2 separate regions of the Homo sapiens genome follow, and region 1 is linked to region 2. Evidence: promoter capture Hi-C in human tissues and cell types (Jung and others, 2019). All regions are on one chromosome and are shown on one strand. The core of a region is centred on a gene start or on the middle of the fragment in contact, and the rest is flanking DNA. Distances in the headings are between cores, read along the strand shown.

Region 1 (4,180 bases), core at 1,490-3,989, 42 kb after region 2:
GCTGGTCTCGAACTCCTGACCTCAGGTGATCCACCCACCGTGGCCTCCCAAAGTGTTGGGATTACAGGCGTGAGCCACCTCGCCAGGTCAGAAACTGCTATTTGTTAGCACTTCTCAAAAATACATTACAGGACTGGATCATCTTTATTCTTAATAAATAAAAATGCCAAATTGGCCATAATTGTCAGTGTGTTTTCTCTTTTTAGCATTGGTTTATGGGGTACTAGAAACATTTTTAGAATTATTCTATTTTTTATGTTCCTTATTAACTTGATAGTGTATTTCCTTCTCAGTGTTCCTTATGCTTCTTGTCTTAAACCAATGGTCCATCCATCCTGGGTGTAAATTAAACTGAGTATGACTAAACATAAAAAGAATTTAATGCTGCATGATAGTGAAACCCACCAGGATGGTTAGTGGTGTTCGGCTGAGTGCTGAGCCAACGGCCTGGAGACTGAGTCACAGCCAAATTGATCTCCACTCCCAGGGAAGGTGTGCTCTCCTGGCATGCCTTCAGAGCACTCACGCCCTTCCATTTAGAAAAGTAACTATTTTATTATTGATTTAGAAAATAAATGAAACATACTATCATTGCCTTGAAGCACGCAGATGCTTGCAATATCTTCAGGAGCCCGTGAGGATCACAAATAGCACACTGGGAAATGTTTCACCACGCCAGCTTCCACCGACTGTAGGCGCCTGGGGGTACATCGGAACTCAGCCATCTCTGCAGGTGACAGCCTCGTGGTGCCCAGCCCAGTGGGTTTTGCATAGGCTTAGATGCTTGCTATTTGTAGATTGTTGCTGATATTGCTTGATATTTGGAAGGGCAAAGAAAAAAAGGAGGGAAAGACCGACTACCTCCTCTTGAGTATATTCTGCTTCCCAGTATACAAGGGGGTTGACTGCACTGCCCAGGTCTGGATCATGTCTACACAGCCCGAGGAATGAGAGGTGGTGGTTGGCAAGATGCAGCCAGGGCCGGAAAGAGATGCAGAGATCCCCCAGGAACCAGTGTGTGAACTCTCTGGCCGTGTCCTCCCCCTGCCATGAAGAGCCGAGATAATGAAGATAGAACAAGCTCAGAGCAGGGCAGAGAAGCCATCCAGGAGACATGACTTACGGGAGGAGAGTTTAATTGGTTTAGCCTAAAAAGCCCATTACGCTCTCTGGTGGACACGGTAATGCTATAAATATCCACAAGGTGACAACAAGGGAGAGAGGATGGGTCTGTCTCGCTGATAGACTGTTAAGACCGGCGGCGCAGGGGGAGGCAGGCCCTGCTGGGGGCTTGAGCTCATTTCAGGGGCTTGGAGATGTTTTTACAGTGAGAATCCTTTGTTCAAATGAAAGCATACATGGAACTCTGTAACATGAAACAGATGGATAGCTAAGCTTCTCTAGCAGAAGCAAAGGTCATTCTTTGCCCCAACTCCTGCAGATACCTCACCTCACCCTCCCTGCAGCGCCCCGGCATCTCCTCTAGGCTCAGTTGGAAAACCTGTAGGTGAGCTACTCAGAGGCCCCCAGCTCTGACAGTCCTTGCTGGGGAGTGGCCGTGTCTAAGCAGGAGGTGAGGGTGAGGCACCCGAAAAGACAGTCTGTGGGGATGCAGCTTAAAGCAGGGCCCCTGTGTGGAAAGGGGTTTTTGCTGCCAAGAGATCCTGGGAGTGGTGAGACAGTACCCATCAAGCCTCGGGAAGGACTGAGCTCGTTAAATCACAAGTCGTATCTCACTGGCAGCTGCAGTCTTGGGAGCAGGCATTGGCAATGGATTGTGAGCAAGCGCATGCCTGTGGGGTCTCTCACATGGTCGGGAGGGGAGCTCAGCTTTCAGGGAGCATCTCAGAGTGTGCAGATGGGAGGGTGTTAGGGAAAAGGAGGCAGGGTGATGAGCACGGCGGCAGTCCCGGACCCGGAGTGTGGAGGCTGAGCTCCAATCCCTGCTCTCTGTAAATCTGCCATGTGACCTTGGGTTGTTTGGCTCTCAATTTCCTGATCTGAAACACAAGGTTGGATAAGAAGAGGGAGTGGGATGGAGGCGTAAGCTGCGGCCGCCCGTTCCCAGCCCTCTTCCGCCCTCTTATGGCCACCCCTGAACCAGCCTTTGCTAGGCGGCTTCCCAGGGCCTCCAGGGCCTGCGAGCCCAGTCTGGGAAAACTGGGCTTGGCAATGACCCTGGCAAGGGCATCCCAGGCCGTGGCTCCTGGATGAGAGAGACAGAATCAAATCTGCCCTGGGGGGAGGGGAACTGGGAGAGCTCCTTTGCCAAGGGACCACACTTGGGGGCCACCCTTGAACCTCTTTCTAACAAGGAACAAAGGCAGCTCCACGAGTGACTCCTCTGCTCAGAAACACAGCTCTCTGCTGCCTGGAAATCACAAAAAGACGCTGAGTGATGGGGTGCCCTTCTATGCTCTGGTTCCCTCCCAGTTTCTTTCCTCCCAATTTCCCTCCTCATCTTCTATGCCTCTATTTAGCCCTCAGGACGTGACAGTTCCCAGATCTCTGCTGGATGCCTCCCTTTATCTGAAATGCTGGTTCCAGCCTCCAGCACTCCCCCTAACAGGGAACAGGTACTCACTCCCTCCTCCCTGTGAGACACAATTAACAGTGACATACAATTTTTTAATGTGAAAATCAACCACCAAGCAGGCCAGGCATGGTGGCTCACGCCTGTAATCCCAGTACTTTGGGAGGCTGAGGTGGGAGGATGGCTTGAGCCCAGGAGTTCAAGACCAGCCTGGGCAAAATAGCGAGACCACATCTCAGAAAAAAAAAGAAAACCAGCCACAAAGCCTACTACTCACACCTGTTATTCCTCAGTAGGAGCCATGGTGCACCTGGCCTTTTGTTCTTGGTTTTTCATCACTGTACAATGTTTTTTTCCTGCTGATCCATAATCCTTATGGTAGTAATTTAGCAGCTGCATGATTCATCATTATACAGACTGGTGGCTGTCAGTCTGAGTCTAGGGGCTGTCCAGGTGATGGCATCCAACTTCTCCTTTCACCCCAGGAACTCTGCATTTACCTTTCTCCCAGCTTCATTGTCTTGTTATAACACACTGGGGGTTTCAGGAAAGATTTTATTTGGAAAAAAAATCTGTGGTTTAAGACACTTAAAAATCACGGAGCTAGATTAACAAATATGCACATAACCAAATGCATAACAAATATGCACATAACCAAATGCATCATTTCAAAGAATGGTTTTGCACATGCAGACTTTCCCTCTTTTAAAAGTGTCTCGCTGGCATTTTTTTTTCTCCCCTGCCTGGCGTTGTCCTTCTCTGGAGAATGCGTTTGCCTCGACCCTTCTATTAGAACAGGACTCCTGAGAGTCAGGGGCTGGGTCCTGCTCATTTCAAAGCCTGGCAAGGTGCCCCGCACACCGTGCACGCTCCCTTGTGGAACTGAATATGAAGGTGGCTCCACGGGGGAACTGGGACGTGCCTATGTTGGATGGACAAGACGTTCCAGTTCAGAATTTCTCAGCACACCAGGGAATGGCAGAGGTTCTCCAAGATAATTTTTGTTGTCAGGGTAGGGCCAAGACCACCTCCCTTGCCAGGCTCTGGGGGGACTCAGAGAGTCCTTGCCCTGGGAAGGGTTTTGTCAGGAGCACCAGATGAAACAGACCACGCTGGCCTCCCTCCAGGGTTCAGGACAGGCCTCGGCCTCGGCATTCATTGCTGGAGCCTTTCCCACATCCTCCACTGCACACTCGCTGGTCTGTGCCCATCACTGCACCTGAATGTCCTGCTGGTGAGGCACCTAGCTGAGAGAGATGTGTCCCTGGGCTCTGCTTGGAGGAATAACCCTTGGCCCATCTCCTGTGCTGTGACCCTCCACGCCTGCCCTCAAGTCATGTCCCCAGGAGGAAACTGCCAGCCAGTCCCCAGCAAGGGGGAATAGTGAATCAGAACACAAAGAGGCTTTTGGCTGGGTGCAGTGGCTCATCCCTTCCCAGCCCTTTTGGAGGCTAAGGCAGGTGGATCACTTGAGGTCAGGAGTTCGAGACCAGCATGGCCAGCATGGTGAAACCCTGTCTCTACTAAAAATACAAAAATCAGCCAGACGTGGTGGCAGGCACTTGTAATCCCAGCTACTCGGGAGGCTGAGGCAGGAGAATCGCTTGAACCCAGAAGGCGGAGGTTGCAGTGAGCTGAGATCGTGCT
Region 2 (4,234 bases), core at 1,222-3,721:
TGTGACAGCGACGATAGAACCGTTGGTCTAGATTGGTCCCACCTCCTCTCTGTACAAAGAAGGAAATGGAGGCCACGTCCGATCTCAACTGCAAGTCCTTGGTACTCCTCTTTGCAGCCTTCTCTAGATTTGCCCCTTTTCCCTCCACCCACACTGCAGAGCCTAGATGCTCCCCTCTCCACTCCCTGAGGCTGTGCAGGGGCTGCCTTCCCATTCTCACCTCTGCAGCTCTCCCCCTCTGACCCCTCCCACGCTTCCTTTCCAGACTGAAACACTGTCTTCTGCATGTCACTCAGAGGCTTGTGGGGGCTCCCAGCTGGCTGTCCCATGAGCAGAGTGCTCTCCATTGTTTCCCATTCCCTCCTCCGTGCTCCCTGGAGTAGGAGGTAGACAGCCAGGGACTGAGCCAAACCACTCCCCAGATGGCAAGAAAGGATGGGACAGATCGGCCTCAGGTCCCTCAGCTATTAGGACCCAGTGGTCACATGGGTCTGGGCTGAGTGACAACCACACCTTCTCTACCACCCCCAGGAGTTGGAATGCTTCTATCTCTGCCGCCAAATTGTGTCTGGAGTCAAATATTTTCCTTTCTCTGAGTCTCAGCTGAAAAACCTGTAAAATGAGGGGGTGGCACTAGACAGCCCCCCTATCCGACATGCTCTGATGGGGCCCAGGGTAGGCTGGGCAGGTCTGCTGTTTGGCTCCTGGCTGAAGTCCCTGACACACTGAGGAGGTCTTGTTACAGGCTGTGGACAGTCCCAGGCCAGCAGCTCCTTCCTCTCCAAGGGACCAACCTGAGGGCATGGGAGGGCTTCTGCTGTAGGACCCTGGGGTCTGGGCCAGGGAAGCTCCCTTCCATGAACGCTGCTGGAAGGTGGGGGGACGGCAGCGGGAACCAAGAGTTAGATGCAGGGAGAGTCCCTCTTATTGGCCTTCCTGCCCACTATAGGCCCCCGAGAGCTTTTGCTCACACCAGACTATAGCCTTCGTCTCCCAGCCTCCAAGCCTTTGCTCTCACTGTTCCTTTCCCTCTATCTAAGACTGTTAAACTCCTACACATCCCACAAGGCCAGCTCAAATGCCACCCCCTCCATTAAGCCCTCCCACAAAGCCTTCCACAAAGCACATTGTGTGTTTGCTTCCTGACCCCACAACCAGACTCCACCTGTCTGTTCCCCTAGCACTGAGCACAGAGGACCAAGCTGTGCATCCTCCCTCAGAGAAGGAAGCGGCCTCGAAAGTGGCCGTTACTTTCCCAAATAAAGGAGAAGGGGACAGAAGAGGGAAGGAAGGTGGAAGGGAAAGAGGAGGGGAGGGAAGTGAGGATAATAACTATACATTTTAAAATACGGATTAAATACTTATCTCCATTTTACAGATGAGAAGGTAAGGTCCAGGGAAGTCAAGTAACTTGCCCAGCCAGGATTCAAACCCAAGCAGCCTGGCTAGACGCCGGACTCTCAAAACCACCAAGAATGGATGTTGGAAGAGGGGGAGGAGGAAAGGAAGGCCGGGAGCCGACTGAAATTCCACCCTGTTCTGGTGGATTTATGACCCAGGCCGTGGTGTGAGGGCACTGGGCAGGGTGCTCTTCGCTGAATGCCGAGTGACAGATCCAAGATCTTGCCAGCTTGAGGCACAGAGGCACCTGCTCCAGGTGTGCCAGGAGATGCTGGGACCTGGCCTGACCTAGCGCAGGTAGGGAGGGCTGAAGACAGCAAATGCCCGAGTATTCAAGAGAGAGCATGGGGGGTGCTGTCCTGAGGGTGCAGCAACTTTAGGATGGCTCATCCCTTCTCTGCCGTTGGGCAGCTCTTCTCAGCAGCCTCCTCTCAGCCCTGTAGCCTCCCCGGGGTTACTGACTCTGTGGACCTGAAGCAGTGCCAACAAATGGTCTCTGAGCTGTACCTGTCCAGGCTAGGAAAGAGGGGGCTTGAAGTCTTCTGCCCCCTTCCCTTCGGTGTTTCTGTCACACGCCGACCCCCCAACATAATCAGCTCCGGTCTGGATAGTTGGAGAGCCCAGATCAGCCCTGGTTCGTTGTCCCCCAAGTCGTAAGTGTGACATCTGAACCCGCCTTGCCCCTTCCCTGTCTCCTCCCTGGAAGAAGGCAGAGCAATGGTTACACACGGCGTGTACACAAACAAGACACGCAGGCACCCCTGAGGCCTGGGCGCACCACTCAGGGCGGGCCTTGGGCCAAGCTCCCCAGCGTGGTCACTTGTCCAGTTGGAAGCAGGTTGGTGAGCGACTGGAGGGCCGGGCTGAGGGTCCAAGGGATCCCCCATGCACCCTAGGCCCAGTCTCCAGGAACCCTCAGAGGCCTGCAGACTCACAGAGAGACAGAAGGACAGATGGGACAGCAAGAGGCAGACCAAGAGGCAGACGCGCGGCCAGGCGGGGGCTCACCAGATGGAGCGCGGACAGTCCGGGGCTGGGCGGGCGCCGCGGCGGAGCAGCGCTAACGGGCTCCCTCCCCGGGCGCCCTGGGGCCTTTTTATCCGCCTCCCGCCCGCGGCCCCCCAGCCCCGAGCTGGCCGCGGAGGAGGCCCCGCAGGCCCCGCCCCGGGCGGGCCTGGAGTCCGCGGGCGCCCCGCCCGGCCTTCCGCGCGGCGCCCCCCGTCGGGACACAGGCCAGGTGGCGGGGGCGCCCAGCCGCAGCCGGCGGGGCCGGGAAGTCCCGGGGGGCGGGGGGAGCGGGGGGGCGGCGGGGGGTCGCGGGGAGCGGAGCTCTCGGGAAAGGGCGGCGCTGGGCCCGCGGCTGTTTTGCAGGGAGGGCCGCGGCGGCCTCGGGAGTCCCTCTCCCAGGCAGTTTCCTCTTTTGCAGAACAAGGTAATGACGCCCACCTAGAGTCCCAGTCTGTGAGTCCTGGTGGGTGCCAGGGCCCCCGGCACAGCACCCTTCGCACGGGAGCGCCCGGCTGTCACAGGGGCCGAATCTCACGAGCTCGGTCACTTAGGACAATGTAGACGCCCTTTCTGGGAGGCCGGGGCTCAGTTCAGAGAGGTCGAGGTGGCGCGGTGCAGCGGTGCTCTCCTGCAGGAACAGGCGAGTCACCCAGAGTTTACTGAATACCGCCCCCCCCCCCCCCCCCGCCCTCCGTGTGAAACTCTGCGCTGCCCATTGTGCAGCTGGGAACACTGAGCCCCAGGCGACATAACTTGCTCCTCCAGGCAATACACAGTGAATGGGAGAACCCCTTCACAGAGCTGAATGATGCAGTCCTGGCCCTTGTCAGACTCACGGGAGGAGGGTGTTAGTGCAGGGAGCAGGGACTGTAGAATTAAAGAAATGTGGACATGGCTGACAGAGAGGAGTCCCATCAGCTGAACTGAGCACCTAGGTGCCTGAACCCCAGTCCAAGCCCCCAGTTTCTTTCCCCTAGACCTGGTCCTGCCCTTAGCCTCACTGGCCCCATCTGTAAAATGGGCAGAGGGTTCCAGCCTCCCGGTTTCCTCCCTAGGCCCACAGCTGCCCAACCTGGTTCCCCCTCTTGCCCCCACCTTGCCTAAACGTCCTTCCAAAGGTTCATTCATCCCACAAGCCTTTATTGATTTTCTCCTACATGCTAGACAGGGTGCTGGAGTGCTAGACGCTGGAGGGGGCCTTCCCAGTCTGGTGGGGGAGGCAGATGTGCAAGTAAGAATAAGCCTGGACAGGCAGAGTGTGATAGAGCTAGGATGTCAAGATGGACCTTTTCGATCCTGGGTGACAGCCAGGTCTTAATGACCCTGCTGCCAGGGACCTGCCATCCACTCCTGGCTGCCCGTGTCCAAGATGTCCCCCCAGTGCCCCTGCCCCACCCCAGCTGGGCCCAAAACATTCCCCATGATGAATCAGCAGGAAAGAATGCTCCCAGCCTCGGGTCAGTGGCAGCAGCCCAGCTCCTCCCCCAGGGACAATGAGGCAGCTGTGGGCTTGGGTGCCAGGTATGCCTAAGCCCTCTCCTAGGGCCCAGCCACCTCTCATGCTGAGCCAGAAGCAACACAGAGGGTTCGGAAACGTGGGCTCTGCCTGCTGCCAATCACTCACCAGGCCTGGCTGCCCAGAACTAAAAATACCCTGGAGCGCAGGGGCGGGCGGAGGATAGAGACCAGGGAATGAATGGATGTTGCCCGGAAGTCCTTTAATTTGCACAACTCTGGGCAGAGGCCAAGGCTGGGAAGCAGTGGAAGTGGGGATCTCTAAGGCATGCGCTGTGAGCCCCCAACCCTGAGAAGTGAGGGGCTCTGG

Evidence for each region. The method cuts DNA at HindIII sites, captures the fragments that hold promoters and counts their contacts. A contact is called where the count stands out against the background at its distance.
Region 1: a fragment that was not itself captured here is called in contact with the fragment with the promoter of LOXL4 in region 2 in 9 of the 25 tissues and cell types used here (H1 embryonic stem cells, adrenal gland, aorta and 6 more).

Annotation. Positions count from the first base shown.
Region 1 is chr10:98,307,670-98,311,849 of GRCh38, forward strand. No RefSeq gene overlaps it. Among named protein-coding and RNA genes, the nearest start is that of LOXL4, 42 kb to the left of the region's middle. The HindIII fragment of the contact is 9,107 bases long and covers 1-4,180 here.
Region 2 is chr10:98,265,723-98,269,956 of GRCh38, forward strand. It overlaps LOXL4 (lysyl oxidase like 4), which reads right to left and starts at 2,472. Exons shown (of 15, transcript NM_032211.7): 1 at 2,410-2,472. LOC124902489 (a long non-coding RNA gene) reads left to right here and starts at 2,720. Exons shown (of 2, transcript XR_007062260.1): 1 at 2,720-4,234. RefSeq lists enhancers at 1,418-1,919, 1,920-2,419. The HindIII fragment of the contact is 18,964 bases long and covers 1-4,234 here.